Linked DNA regions of Homo sapiens: all the other regions are linked to region 1. Evidence: promoter capture Hi-C in 16 types of primary human blood cells and fetal thymus (Javierre and others, 2016). All regions are on one chromosome and are shown on one strand. The core of a region is centred on a gene start or on the middle of the fragment in contact, and the rest is flanking DNA. Distances in the headings are between cores, read along the strand shown. Region 1 holds the start of PREB (prolactin regulatory element binding). Region 2 overlaps PPM1G (protein phosphatase, Mg2+/Mn2+ dependent 1G). Region 3 holds the start of MPV17 (mitochondrial inner membrane protein MPV17).

Region 1 (4,960 bases), core at 817-3,316:
GCCTCTTTCAGCCACCACCCAAAGTCTTCACACCTGCAGGCCTGGTAGCGGTAAGGTGTGCTGGAAAAGGTGGGTCCATTTTCTTGCCAGTGCAGCTGTGTCACCAGCTGATCCTTCTGCCACACAGAGGCCTTAAGGTCCCGGCCCACGGTTACCAACTAGTTAGGAATAAAGATTCCAAGGATGGACAGTTAGGGGATCCACTTACTGGGCAAGCAGCATAAGCACCTCCTCTCTCCTTTCTCCATCCTCCTCCCACCCCCAGCCCCTCACCTTGCCATCAGGCCCTAAAGCCAGGTCTTCAATCTCCCCTTCGTGGGCTTTGAACTCCAGAACCTTCTCCAGGCTGGGCACCTGTAGCCAAACAACCACCATGGTTAACTCAGGTGTCCAGCAAGTACACTGTGACTGATGCCCACGCCACCCCTTCTAATGGCCCCTCAATGCAAGCTTCATTCACAAGTTTCCCAGATGCCACGTTCAACTTCTCACAATTTTGATCCTGTTGCTACTGACATTCACCCTCCCTAACCCTGCAAACCCACACCTTCCAGACACGGACGTAGCCATCTGTTCCTCCAGTGGCAAGCAGGGTATTATCGTGGTTGAAGCACACAACTTTCTGCAGTGGATCGGAGCTAAAGTCTGTCTGCACCGCCTGCAAATTCTCTACCCTGAGTTCTAGCCCCTCGTGCTGGGTTTCCGCTCCACATTTCTTCTCTGCTGGGGCTGCTCCCTTCCTTTGTCGAGGCCCCTGCTCCTTGGAACCTGTAACACAAACACTTGGCCAGGTTCCAGGCTTCTACAGTAAGGAGTACTGGCCCCTCTCTCCATGGCAGGTGCCCATACAACTTCTAGCTTGCTACCAAAACCCTACTTCCAGACCCACTTCTTTAGAGACACCAAGAGTGACCTTACTCGTTCAACCCTTTCCCCAAGGGGGTAGAGAGGGAGCTCCTCACCGGCCTTCTCTGCCTTGTTGCCCTGCTGTTGATGTGCCTGGAAGCGCAGGAGCTGACAGTGGGCATCCTGCCCTGCAGCAAGGATGTCACCAGCCAGTGCCAAGTTCATGGTGGCCCGTGTCTCTGTGTCATGGGAGTGCAGCAAGGAGGCACTCAAGCGCCCATTAATCAGCTCTAGCTGCAGAAAGTGCTGTGGGAGGGGGAACCCGGATGAGCAAGTTCAGGGGTGCCCAGAGAGCACGTTTAGGGAAGAGTCTGATGTCTTACCCCTTTGCTTTCTGCACGTTCTAGTTCACAAGGGTTTCTCGAGTCTTTTTTCTCTCATTTGGGCCTCACAAATCTACACAGTGAGCAGGACTGGGATTATTACCTCTATTTTACAGAACAGGGTGAAGCTCAGGAGAGGGAAGGAACTTAGCCTAAACCCAAATGCACCACTCTCGCCGCTGCTAGAGGGCAGGCAAGACCTCCCGGAAAAGGCCAGTATAAGACCCCTGGAGCTGCTCTGAGGCGGAGCTGAAGCGTTCCTGGCGACTCTGCAGCTGTGTGCAGTTTTCACTTTACCTTAAAAGCCTCTCCTCCGCCCGCTGAGTTCTCGACTGAAATTCGCCCCTGGGCGTCAGGCAAGCGGGTCTTCCCAACAGAAGTGGGCAGGGCCCGAAGCTGGAGTGTGGCCCGCCCCGCGACCCCCCGGCCACCCTGGAATCGCCGCCAGCCCGCAGCAAGACCCAGCCCCAGTGGCCCTGCGCTCTCACCACGCCATTCTTTATGCCTGTCTTGGCGGCGCCTCCTCCGCCCGCAGCGATGAGCAGCCCAGTGCTGGGGTCGACCTGAAGCGCGTACAACGGGAACGGAGCCCGGTACAGCTCTGGCGCCCGGCGCCGGCCCATCCCGCCCGGCGCGCGTTCACTGCCCGCACCGCGGCACCCAGGACATGCCGCGCCGGGCCTTCGACTACTGCCCCGGCGGCTGGTGAACTCGGCCCCGTCGCCGCCGGGAGCACTCCCTACCCCTCTCACACCGGGGAGTTGCCAAAACCCTGACCATCAGCAGGAAGCCGAGCCTCAGCTCGGCTCCGTCCAAGTCGGTCTCGCAGACGCGCACTGCGCATGCGCACCTGTCTCGCGGCTCCCTCCGCGCAGGCGCAGGAGCGCCGACACGCGTCAGCACTAGCCGGCCGCGGGGCCGCGTTTCCCGGGGCGGGGCTTCGGTTCTCCACCCCTGGCGCGGAGGCAGAGTCGCCCAGCACCGACTTCGCCATTTTTGTGCGGGGCGCGGGGCGCGGGCGGAGGAGGTGGAGCCAATGGAGGTTGATGAAGGTCAACCTTTAATAAAGAAATCCGACTCGCGCCTGTAATCCCAGCACTTTGTGAGTCCTAGGCGGGCGGATCAGGAGTTCGAGACCAGCCTGACCAACATGGAGAAACCCCGTCTCTACCAAAAATACAAAGGGCGTGGTGGCGTGCGCCTGTAATCCCAGCTACTCGGGAGCCTGAGGCAGGAGAATCACTTGAACCTGGGAAGTAGAGGTTGCAGTGAGCCGAGATCGCGCCATTGCCATTGCTCTTCAGCCTGGGCAACAAGCAACAAGAGTGAAACTCCGTCTCAAAAAAAAAAAAATCCTCTGCCAGGCACGGTGGTTCATGCCTGTAATCCTCCTGTAATCCCAACACTTTCGGAAAGTCCGAGAGAGGAGGATGGCTTGAGCCCAGGCTTTCGAGACAGCCTGGGCAACATGGGGATCCGTCCCTACGAAATATTTAAAAATTAGCCAAACATCGTGGCACCTGTGGGCCCAGGTGCCCAGGAGGCTCAGGCGGGAGGATCACTTGAGACTGGGAGGTCGAGGCTGCGCTGGACCACCAGTGATGTCACCACTGCACTCCAGCCCCTGGGCAACAGAGCTAGACCCTGTCTCTCACACACATAAAATCCTCAAATAAGGACTGTTCCCATCTGAGGAGTGATATGCCAACTCCTAGGAGCACAGGCCTTTGCATCTTACCTCAGAGAGGAAGTGATTTGCCCGAGGGCACACACCAGAAACCACCGGAGTCTCTTGCTTCTTAACGGAGGCAGCATGAACTTAAAAATAAACCTGACTTCAAATGCTGAATCCATTGCTTCCTCGTATGAGGACACGTCTGTCATCCTTAACGCCTATCGCCCACTTTTGGCAGGGGTGGTGTCTGCCATTCCCTTTCTCAAGGCTTCACACTCCTGGGCTGGTGGCTTGGTGGGTGGCCAGCTGCTTTGCTGGCCTCAGAGGGGGCAGTTTGGCTCCCGGGCAGGTATCTTCTGCGCCTGACACTCCATTCTCCCTCGGGTTTCTGATCTGATGAGGACCTTTGTGCACTCCTGAGAGCGAGCACAAGGGATGTCCTTCCCTGCAAAGAGACGCCCTCTCCTGCATTCTCATTAACCTAAGGTGCACCCAGAGGAATAGCGCAGTGGCTTCATCTTTGGGGATGCCAATATCTGTCCCACAGAGTTGAATTAGATGTGTGAAGGGCCTGGCCAAGCTCTCTGCATATCTCAAGTCCCCAGGCCTTGTGGGTCCCTTGTCCTCCTTGGATACATGGCACCTGCTCTTTCTGGCCTCTCCGTTTCCTTTGACACCACCCTCCAGGGTCTTTTTTATTTTTTGAGACGGAGTCTCGCTCTGTTGCCCAGTCTGGAGTGCAGTGGCCTGATCTCAGCTCACTGCACCCTCCACCTCCCAGGTTGAAGTGATTCTCCTGCCTCAGCCTCCTGAGTAGCTGGAACTACAGGCACCCGCCACCACACCCAGCTAATTTTTGTATTTTTAGTAGAGATGGAGTTTCACCATGTTGGCCAGGCTGGTCTCGTAACTCCTGACCTTAAATGATATGCCCACCTTGGCCTCCCAAAGTGCTGGGATTATAGGCATGAGCAACCACACCATGCCCTCTTTTTTTTTTTTTTTTTTTTGAGATAGGGTCTCTGTCACCCAGGCTGGAGTGCAATGGCATGATATAGCTCATTGCAACCTTGAACTCCTGGACTCAAGTGATCCTCCCACTTTAGCCTCTTGAGTAGCTGGTAGTACAGGCACGCGCCACCATACTCAGCTAATTTTTTTATATTTTTGTTTTTGGAGAGACAGGGTCTTGCTATGTTGCCCAGGCTGGTCTCAAACTCGTGGCTTCAAGTGATCCTCCTACCTCAGCCTTCCAGTGTGTTGGGATTATAGGCATGAACCACCCCCTCCCCGCCACCAAGGGTCTTGTTAGGGACTGGCACCCCTATAGTTACAGCCACCTATTCTGTGGACTCAGCAGGACGCAAACACAAGTTTCACAGGGTCAGACTTTATTAGATACACGGAGGGCTGAATGGGGCCTTGGTGCCCTTGGTCCTCTTCAGCCTGGAGACAGCAGACTCCACAAGGGGCTCCCAGGGTTCAGAGCAGGAGAACACACCTGACCTCCGGCCAGCCAGCCCTTCAGGGTGTCTCGGGGACTCCCCGAGATCTGGGGCCTGGTTGGGAGGGTTGGGTTTGGAGGGGGTGTTCCAGGGGGCCTCCGTGGCTCTGGAACTAGACTGATGACTTTTGGAGAATGAGCTCCAGAGAAACTGGCCTCTTTGGGCCAGGGCAAGGCCTGGGCTTCAGGGAGGTAGTGACCTGTTTTGGTGCCCGAGGTGGAGGCCCGGAGAAACATCGTGGGGAGTTTGGTGATTGAAGGCCTGCAGACCTGAAGCTCCTGGTCTGGGAGGGTGTGCCTGGGACTGGGTCGGCCCGGGCCTGAGCTGCTGGAGGCTGAGATGCTGGCAATTGATGCCCACAGGCCTGAGTAGCCTTGCCCTGAGGCCCTGCTTCCTTCGGCCTTTTCTCGGGCAGCAGATGCAAGGCCCTGGCCTGGCCCTGAGGCAGGCGGAGGCCGAAGCCGATGCCTATCCGGAGTGGCCCAGATTCCTGGCCCTGCACACAGGGCAGTAGTTGAGGGAAAGCAAGCAGCCGGGGTCCAGTCCTGTAC
Region 2 (4,960 bases), core at 1,235-3,734, 250 kb after region 1:
ACAAAACTCAGTCTCAGGTCCGGAGGGCTCAGAAAACAGTCTAGGTGGGCAGGGGTCTGGATGACTGCTAGTCTCGCTTGGCCTTCTTCTTCTTGTCGCTGTTGCCATTTTCTTCAGCCCCCTCAGTAGAGAGCACCTCCTCTAGTTTTCGCTTGCCACTCTCTGGCTGGAGCTCTGCTGTGTTTCGGGGCTTGAAGCAAATGATGATGCAGGTCATGTTGTCACACCCTGTACCATCCCCAGAAGTGTCTGGTGCCAGGCACTGATCCAGCAGCTAAGAAAGGGATGGGGGTAGCTCAGCCACAGGGTTTGAACACCTTGCCAGGAATCTACAGTCCCACAAGAGGGCTGGCTTGCTGAGTCAGGGTGGTAGGAGAGGAATGGGCAAGAGGTATCACACAACGGCCCACCTGCTAGTCCATAAGGCATAAGGCTAAGTCAGGGAAATGACAGAAGGTGGAACTTTGGAGTCGGGGTTTAGCGTCTGTCAGCAATTACTGATAATGCTCCCAGATTGCCGACTTAGCTCAGATTAAAAGAGTGAACCCTGGCTGTGCAGACCAGACACCCTCTCTTCTCCACCCTGGTACTCACCTCTTCCACAATGGATGACAATAACCGAAGCTCCCCATTTTCATCACGCTGGCTGATCTTTGATTGAATGAAATCTACAACTTCCTGGCTGCTCATCACATTCCTGGGGTCAAGAACAACAGTCAGAATCTTCCAGTCTCACTAAGGCAGCGTAGAGGAGTATGGACAGAGGTGGTGGCCCAGGCCAGTGTAAATAACTACAGAAATTCTCAGCTCTGCCTTAGTCTGGGTGCTCTTCACCCACCAAGAGGCCTAGGTCTGCCTAGGCTCTAATCCTAGAGGTGCCCTGAGTCCTATAAGAGAAGACATGCTGCAGAAAGGGGAATTTAGGGCATTCTGCCAGTGCTCACCAGATGCCATCACAGGCAATGACCATGAATTCATGGTCGTCAGTGAGAGTCAGCACCTTGATGTCAGGAAGGGCTGAAATCATCTGTTCCTCAGGTGGCAGGTTCTTGTTTCTCTTATAGAAGTGGTCCCCTGGAGTAAAGGAATGGTTGATGAGCAGTTTGGATACTTCCCACAGACTTGTGTTTGTGGCAGGTCAAACCTTGCCATTCATTTCCCTTCTTTACAAAGTTCCATAATCTAGTGGAATGGGGAACTGAGTCCTAAGTCCTAGTTTTTCTAGTTTCAACCCTGCCACCAGACTGCTGAACCTTAAGAAAGTCACTCACTGGTCTTTTTATTTTAAGTCTTTTTTGTTTTTTTTTTTTTGAGACGGAGTTTCACTCTTGTAGCCCAGGCTGGAGTGTAATGGCACGATCTCGGCTCACTACAACCTCCGCCTCCCGGATTCAAGCGGTTCTCCTGCCTCAGCCTCCTGAGTAGCTGGGATTACAGGCTTGCACTACCATGCCCAGCTAATTTTTGTATTTTTTTTTTTTTTTAGTAGAGATGGGGTTTCACCATGTTGGCCAGGCTGGCCTCGAACTCCTGACCTCAGGCGATCCACCAGCCTCAGCCTCCCAAAGTGCTGGGATTACAGGCGTGAGCCACCACGCCCGGCACTCACAGGTCTTTTTCATCATTCAAATGTTACATAAGATGGGTATAATGATACCTATGTATAATGATACCTCTACCCATCTTAGTTATTTCACAGAAATATAAGAACAGAGGTAGTAGATATTAAAGTGCTTTGAAAGGCACAAGCACTAGGAAGATTAAAGTTTGCTACTAGGTAGTCTGGGACAGAGAGAAAGACCCTAGAAGTCTTTCCCAGTTTCTTGGCCCTTACCAATGGCTCTGGAGAGGTTGAGGCCCCCGTTGACTCGCCCATCCATGGTGACCTTGCCACCAGCATTCTTGATGCGTGCTAGTTCTACTTCATCCTCTGGTTTGTGATCATAGGACATGTCTAAAGCTTTGCCAGCCTCAGATACCACACAGCGAGAGTCTCCTGCGTTGGCTACAATCAACTGCTTCCCTCGTATCAGGGCCACCACCGCTGTTGTACCACTGTCAGAGCCAGGCTTAAGAGGAAGAAAAGGAGCATCATGGGGGCTTCTGAACATGCGTTCCTCACTGATGTGCTCCTGATCGTTCACCTATGCTTGCTTTCACTGGGACCCCCAAAAGAGCTTTAACAAACAGGAGAAGCACACATTTCATCTTTCTAGAGACAGCAGCACACTCCCTCTCCCTTGTTTTTAGATAATTCAACCCCAAAGGCTTACCATCTCATTCCCCTTGCAGAATAAATCCCCATGACTATTACTTCCATCCTAAAGTATCAGGGGGATCCCCTGTCTCAAAATCAAAATTAGGGGATTCACACCTGCCTTGTGGCTTTTCAAGACTCATTGCTCCCCTTCCCCACACACCTCCTCTTTGCCTTCCATCCCTGGCACCATCATCTCTTCTTCTTCTTCTTCATCGTCCTCTTCAGCCTCCTCGGTGTCATCCTCATCTTCCTCATTCTCTGCCTCCTCACTGCTGTAGCCATCCTCTTCCTCGCTGCATTCCTGCCAGGGGGAGGATCCCAGACTGCTGAGACTGGGATGATCCCCTCCCTCCCCACAGCTCATACTCAGAATCAAGAGGTCCTGACTGAACACAGGTCCTCAAAACACTGAAAGATACAAGTATATGGTCATGAAAATTGGGGGGATGGAAAGGGCTAGCATGAGTACAACTGACATCCTGAACTGGGCTTAGCAGTCACTAGCAAAAAGCCCAGGACAAGGCAAGGGCTGCCAGCCAAAAATATCTTTCAGGCACTGTGGCCAGAAAATAAATTTTCCAGAGAAGAAAACAGTCAACTAGCCAAGGTAACAACTATCTCCTTGTTCTCTCTCTAGGAGACAGACTCTGAAAAGCCAGAACTAGATCTGCTTGTTATAGTACCAACAAAGGAAGAGGTAAAAAGGCAAATGGTACCTGTGATGATGGAGCTCAATGAATTCAAGACTAAAGCTTAGAATACAGTGGGTCTTGGGGGATGATGTCAAAATAGGAGAAGGAAAGAGAGTTGAAAACTACAGACGGCAACCAAACAGGACCTCTCTGCAACTTCAGCATCTGCCTGCCCTCACAGGCCCTTACCTCACTGTCTTCCTCTTCTTCCTCCGCCTCATCTGACTCATCCTCACTGTCCTCAAAGAACTTGGACTTAGCAACTCGAGGCAGCTTGTCAGAGGCTGAAGAGCAGGAAGGCCCAGCCTCACCAGTGGGAATGCCAGGCTCACCAACTTGGCCTGCCTCAGTCCCACGTTCCGAGTTGGAGGAAAAGCCTGTGTAGGCCTTGGCTGTGGGGCCATTTTCTTGTGAAGGAGTTTCCCTAGTTGAGTCCTCAGGTCCTGCCTCCCCATTGAGGCCCTGGGACCCTGGTTCCTCGCCTGTCCCACCTCCAGATTTGCTGTGGGGAGGGCCCTTGTGACAGTTCTGCCCGTAGCGTGTCAGCAGCTCTTCAATAGTCATGGTAGCCTCTTCATGCAGCAGTGCAGCCTCCTCATTGTCCACTGCAGGGAAGAGGCTAAATCAGAGCCCCCATGCCAGACTCCTCATGGGATCCGTCCCTCTCACTACCTCAACAGCCCTTGCAGCCTCTAACTTCCCCACAACCTCCCACTCCCAAGGTTCCTCTCGCTCAAGTCTCAGAAGAACATGCCCTAGCTCCTCCTCCTCCACAGACTTCTTTTGGTTTTTGTGTTTCATCCCCTTCTTAATCAAAACAACACTAGTTACTATACTTCCCCTCTGACGTCTCATTTTTTATTGTTAAGTTGTAAAAACCCTATTCTGGCTGAGGATCCAGGAAGCCCACAATGCTACTGTGAATTAGGATTTAGGCTTAATGATTGGCTATTGGGGCTAATAACTGCTCCAGTCTTGAGGGGAAAAAAAAGCACATAAATACTAGCAGGAACCAGGAAGACCCCATCACAATGACAAAAGATAATGTATATACAATGCTTACAGCTCAGATGCCACTCAACGAAGATAATTCTCTCCCTCCTTTTCATAACCACATACAATGCAGGAGAACATCATAGGTTTCTTTAACATAAGGACTCCCCAGGTCCCTAGAAAGCCATCCTATCTTAGAATTGATAAGTAATATTAAAGAATATTTCTTAAAATGCTGATTTCCCCTCAAACAAGGGATGCCACACTCACCATCATCTTCATCAGCTACTTTTTCTTTTTCATCTTCATCCTCAGTGGGTCGCCCTGCAATCTGTGCCAGCTCTTTAATGACTTCTTCAGTGGTCAATTTGGCGTCAATAGCCAAGAAGGCATCTTCTAAAGCCTGAATATAAGCAAAATAGTCTAAGACTAGTACAAAATGAACTCCCTATATACAATCCTGAGCACAAGGATGGAATACAAATTAAGAGTGTGAGCCACCACACTAAGAGACACTCACAGATAAAAACAGCTCAGAGGCCTAGGAATAATAAGGCAAGTCTAAAAGGCGGCCAATAAGCTCGTTTTAGGAACAGAATTCTTCAAGAGTAAATAAGCAGCAGCAGCTAGAGGACAAAAAGAAAGGAAAAGCCCAAGGGCTAGAGAACAAGGGAAAAGCCTACACAAGTGAGGAATGGGCGGTGTAAGCAGACAGACCTTCTGTAGCTTGCCTTCCTTGTAGGCCTTCTGATCTTTGATGATATCAGGAAGATATTTGGCACAGTACAAGGCAACTTCCTCCCCTAGAAGGAAAGGAAGGAAGGTCACCTGGAGCACTGCTCCCCACACATAGAAAGTGATACAATATTTATATGCCATACTGGAGTGAACCCCAAGGGTTGAGGGGATAAATATCTTAGCACCCCTGAACCCTATTTGAAGGACACTGTTTGGGGAAGTTCTGATCCAAAAAAATGGATTTCACCATCAATTCTCTCGGGTATAAATATCTCGT
Region 3 (4,960 bases), core at 1,730-4,229, 190 kb after region 1:
AGCTACTCAGGAGGCTGACGCATGATAATTGCTTGAACCCAGGAGGCGGAGGTTGCAGTGAGCTGATATAGCACCACCACTCTCCAGCCTGGGTAACAGGGTGACACCTTATCTCAAAAAAAAAAAAAAAAGAAAAAGAAAAAAAGGCTGAGCTCAGTGGCTCACACCTGTAACCCCAGCACTTTAGGAGGCCGAGGCGGGTGAATCACGAGGTCAAGTGTCCGAGACCAGCCTGGCCAACATGGTGAAATCCCGTCTCTACTAAAAATAGAAAAAATTAGCTGGGCGTGGTGGCGCATGCCTATAATCCCAGCTGCTGAAGAGGCTGAGGCAGGAGAATCACTTGAACCCGGGAGGCGGAGGTTGCAGTGAGTCGAGATCACGCCACCGCACTCCAGCCCGGGCAACAGTGCAAGACTCCATCTCGAAGAAAAAAAAAAAGAAAAAAAATGTCCAAAACCTTTTCACAGTGATACTCCTATACTGACCCTGTGAGGTCATATAACTAAACTCAAGATTTTTTTTTTGTTGATTTTTTTTTTTGAGATGGAGTTTCGCTCTTGTTGCCCAGGCTGGAGTGCAATGGCACAATCTTGGCTCACCGCAACCTCTGCCTCATGGGTTCAAGTGATTCTCCTGCCTCAGCCTCCCAAGTAGCTGGGATTACAGGCATGCGCCACCATACCCGGCTAATTTTGTATTTTTAGTAGAGACGGGGTTTCACCGTGTTAGCCAGGTTGGTCTCGATCTCCTGACCTCGTGATCTGCCCACCTCGGCGTCCCAAAGTGCTGGGATTACAGGTGTGAGCCACCGCGCCCAGTCCCTAAACTCAAGTTTTAAAAGAGGAAACTAAGGCTCAAAGAAGCTTACTGACTTGTCCTGATTAATGCACCTACTAGGTGCTATGGTTTTAAGATTCAAATCCTGGTCTTCTAAGTCTGAAATCTCTGTACTGTTTTCCAGTGTGATGAGCTATCCCATGGGACCTTAGGAACTACTGTGCTGGGGTCCAAAAATGGCTCAGTGAACTAAAGCCACTTCCACCTTTTATTTGTAGTTTGATCCAAATACAGTGAACAGCAGGAAAGGAAAAGTCTGGATGGTCTGAAAAAGTCTGGGAAAAGTGCTGGGAGGCTACATTTTGCTTCAGGGCTGAGCTGGGACGTCAGCATAGCCTCAGGAAGACTGAGGCTGTGGAGCTGAAGGGCTCCAGCACCAAGAGCCCAGAACTCCAGCCACATGTCGGCACCTAGGCCTCCTTGGAGCTCTAGCTCCTGCCCTTGTCAGCTGCAGATGCCTCAGGTAGGGAAATATAAGGACTCTTTCCCTCCCTATTCTTGATGACCACAAGGGGGAATCTTCCATCTGGCAGTTATGGGCCCTGAGGGAATCTGAGCCTGGGCAAAGGGCCCAGCGTGTCAGTTCCCATCATAGCCACACTGTCCAGCATGAGTCACCACACACGTAGCCAGGTGAGTCATACAGGCTGACGGACGCTGAGGACAGGACAAGAGGTGGTTGGGCACCGGAGACTGGAGAGGGGCCCAGGGAAGGGCCAAAGAATCCATCTCCTGGCCATTCATGCAGTTAAGTTTCTGTGCCGATGCAGGGCTGTTCTGGTCACAGGATCCCTGTTCCACTCTGGCCTTCAGTAGCCCCCAATCCCTTCCAATAGTCCTCTTCTCAGAAGGCCAGTCATCACTAGAATCCTGTTCCCCTTCTCTAAACATGGGCAAGACCTCATCTTAATGTGATCACTCTTTGCACCCCAATGTTCTAAGGCCTTCTGACATTCCCCCTCTAAGACTTACTTATCTTCATGCCATCCTCTTACATTAGCTAACTTGCAAAATGAAGATGGTAACAAATGCAGGTAGGTCACTGCATTACCTCTGTGAGGTTAGTACTCAATCACTGCATTTGGAGTGACTGGTATCTGATCACTCCAAATGGATCAGGATGGAGTGATCAGATACCAATATACTAACCTTGGAGATACATATTTAGGCAGTAAATGATAACAAAAGCAAATGAACGATATAAACAAAACTCAGGAAATTTTGGGTGAATTACGGAGAGGCACTCAAGAGGTCTCAAAGCTGATTACTGACACAGGAGTGTTCAGTTTTAATGCCATTTAAACTGTACATACACATCTTAATCATTCTTTTGTATGTTTCACAATAAAAAATACCAAGAAAAACTGGGGTAAGAGTCTTGATTCAGCACTTATTAGGTGTGATCTAATGTGGACTCAAGTAACCCTCCTAGCTCACACACCTTTGTGGGGGCCCTATGCCATAACGTATATGAAAGTGCTTTGCATACGGTAAAATGTTTTCCAAGTTGAGGCCTCCTGGGGCAATGCCTTTATCCTTCAGGGCTGACTGTTCAGCTTTTTGAGGACTTTGAAATCCTAAAACCCTACTGCACAGCTTGGCCAACTACGCATACCCCTTAAAAACAGCCTTGGGGACCACCCTCCAAAACAGACTGGGGACAGTGTAGGATGAAAGACAGCCAACCCTTCAAGAGAGCCGAATAGAAACAGGAAGTGAGGGTGGTGCAGTGGGGCAAGCCTCTGGCTTCCAAATCAGTCTGCCCTGGTCCCACTCAAGTCCTAGAGGGACACTCACCAGCTGTCAGGACCTGTACTTTCCACGGGTGAGCGGCCAGGGCCCGCTGGTATGCCCGCCAGAGTGCCATGCTTCCTGTCAAGCCAAGAGGAGAGGGGGTCACCCCCACCGTCCCTCTCCACGACTAAGAAGCCGCCTGACATTCCCTTGTGCCCACTCCCTTCCCCTTCCCACTTCCAATGTGACTTAAAGGGGCAGAGGCCACATGAAGGATGCTTCCCAGACAGCTTCCTGTCGCAGGAGTCGCCTTAGACAATTGGGGAAGAGAGAAAGGCTGTGGGAAGCTATGGACTCCTGGTAGCAGCCACCAGCCACCCCAACCTCATTCCTGAAGCCAGACCACCTGGAAGCCTCCGTTCCCGACGGAGACACTCATGAGGACAGCTTTGCTCTGGCTTCTACCCAGAGCTTGGGTGCCTCAAAAGATAGCTTGGTCCGTCTCCAGATTCAGACTTGGTTGGAACCAGTTTGTAACCTTCCTGAGTCCAGCTCCAAACCGAAAATAGGGCCCGTCACTGCCCGGATATAGGATGACCACACACCTTGTGGGCACTCATGGCTTGCGACGCTTTAAGCCAGAGACCGCAGATCACCCGCCACTCACCTGAGCGCCGAGCCTCCCTCCCACGTGACAGGCTGGCCTAGGAACTTCCGCCACAAGTCCCGCCCCTTCCTCCCAGCGTCCTTCGGATTACGCAGCCAGGACAGGAATGGGGGTGGACCGAGCCATGAATACCCGTGGAGAGCGGCCTAACTCGGCCACCCACTCTGTGAGAGACCCCTTTTCCAGCTGGACTGTGCCGGACCCTGGTGTGGGGCCCGCCAGCCATATTTCTCACCTAAGTTCGACCCTCTGCCTCCTCCTGCCCCTTCTCTCCGCGCGAGACCCGGGCCTCTCTCAATCCGGTAGTCTCATTGTTCAGCCCACCCTCCCCGCATAACTGGCCATAACTACGATCCTTGTCTCAGCAATCGTAGTTAGGGAACTATAAGTTATAGTTAAGTGCGTGTTTTGTCTCTAGGTTCTTCACTGGCCTCAACTGTGAGCTCATGAGTGGGTAAAACTGGGGTCGTTCATATTTGTCGTCCTCATAGCAACTATTTCAGTGCTTTGCCGCAAACAGCCACTTAAGAAATACTGCGTATGTATGATTCTTCCACAGAAAGCATTGGAATTAGAACCTCAGAAGACATTAGGTATTGGCTCCCAAACTAACGGGCTGTGCAGCCTTGGTCATGACTAGACTTGATGTTAAGGCTCTGCATCTGTAAAATGAGGGAGGTTACACTATTGACTTTCCAAACTCGGCTCCTCAGTTCTAGGGATTTTTCAGATGTTTGTGTGTGGGGATGAGAGGGGCAGCATTACTACAGCTGCTTCTCCAACTTTTTTTTCCAAGTATATACTTCTCAAAAGACCCATTTTTAACGGGGCCCACAACTGCATGTTTGAAAACCAGTAAGCTAGGTGATTTCTTAATCCCCTTCCAGCTCTAACATTCTAAGAGTCTGTGAATATAGAGCAATATCCTTTCTAGAGCGTTGGAAATGTCTACAATATCCCTGGCAATGGACTTGTCAGGCTGGCAGGCTTTACTTATCTCCAGGGAGCCCACACGTCAGGAGGCACACTCTTTCAGGCTCTCCACCTGCCCAGCTCCACCCCCAATTTACTCAATTCCTTTATGATTAAGGCAGGGAGACTCCTGCCACAAATCCTGGAGAAACAGAGTAAGGAAGCAAGAGAAGTCAATGTCACAAACATTTAACTAAAATGCTATTTGCAAAACAGCATGCTAGAGGAGTGAACTGACAAAAGTAAATGTAATAGGAGACCAAATGTGGTAGGCTGTAAAGTTATATTCTGAAGTTAGACTGAGTTCAAATCCCCAGCACCACCACTTACTAGTTATATGACCTTGACCTTTTACAGACAGCTTACCCTCTCCAACTCTTTTATCATTAAGTAAAATGGCAATACCTACCTCATACAAGTGACACATGCGAAGTGCCTAAAATGGATCAAGTGCTTAATGCTTGTTTATCCTTTTTCCTCCCTTCCCCCTTGGGAACACAAGGGAGGGAAACTATTTTTTACTGGAGAAAACTGGGAAGCTCTTTGGTGAAGGTGGAATTTGAGCCGGGACCTTGAAGGATGAATTGAACTCAGGTGAAGATGGTGGAAAAAGACACTCTGGCGAAGGGAGGAATATGAGAAGAGGAATAAAGGTAGAGAAGTGTATGAACAATGGATAGTATGAAGTGGGTATATTGGGAGGGAGGGTTAGAAAGAGAAAAGGCTTGTTAGAGAAAAAGAACAAGG

What was found. Contacts are between HindIII fragments. The CHiCAGO score rates a contact against its expected background, and 5 or more counts as called.
Region 2: a fragment that was not itself captured here is called in contact with the fragment with the promoter of PREB in region 1 in 1 of 17 cell types (neutrophils); the score reaches 5.1 in neutrophils.
Region 3: a contact is called between a fragment that was not itself captured here and the fragment with the promoter of PREB in region 1, in 3 of 17 cell types (total B cells, neutrophils and naive B cells). The highest score is 5.4, in total B cells.

The regions. Positions count from the first base shown.
Region 1 is chr2:27,132,570-27,137,529 of GRCh38, forward strand. It overlaps PREB (prolactin regulatory element binding), which reads right to left and starts at 2,067. Exons shown (of 9, transcript NM_013388.6): 1 at 1,718-2,067; 2 at 963-1,152; 3 at 548-768; 4 at 274-354; 5 at 34-158. The coding sequence starts at 1,852. It overlaps PRR30 (proline rich 30), which reads right to left. Exons shown (of 3, transcript NM_178553.4): 3 at 4,279-4,960. The coding sequence ends at 4,522. RefSeq lists a silencer at 1,786-1,885 and enhancers at 1,824-2,480, 1,956-2,005. The HindIII fragment of the contact is 5,539 bases long and covers 449-4,960 here.
Region 2 is chr2:27,381,532-27,386,491 of GRCh38, forward strand. It overlaps PPM1G (protein phosphatase, Mg2+/Mn2+ dependent 1G), which reads right to left. Exons shown (of 10, transcript NM_177983.3): 3 at 4,663-4,748; 4 at 4,216-4,348; 5 at 3,142-3,557; 6 at 2,421-2,561; 7 at 1,835-2,069; 8 at 945-1,074; 9 at 595-697; 10 at 1-274. The coding sequence ends at 68. Among named protein-coding and RNA genes, the nearest start is that of ZNF513, 3.3 kb to the left of the region's middle. The HindIII fragment of the contact is 1,052 bases long and covers 1,959-3,010 here.
Region 3 is chr2:27,319,811-27,324,770 of GRCh38, forward strand. MPV17 (mitochondrial inner membrane protein MPV17) reads right to left here and starts at 3,287. Exons shown (of 8, transcript NM_002437.5): 1 at 3,242-3,287; 2 at 2,638-2,712. The coding sequence starts at 2,707. RefSeq lists enhancers at 2,682-2,731, 2,742-2,831, 2,842-2,891, 2,942-3,001, 3,124-4,096 and 3 more. The HindIII fragment of the contact is 4,230 bases long and covers 865-4,960 here.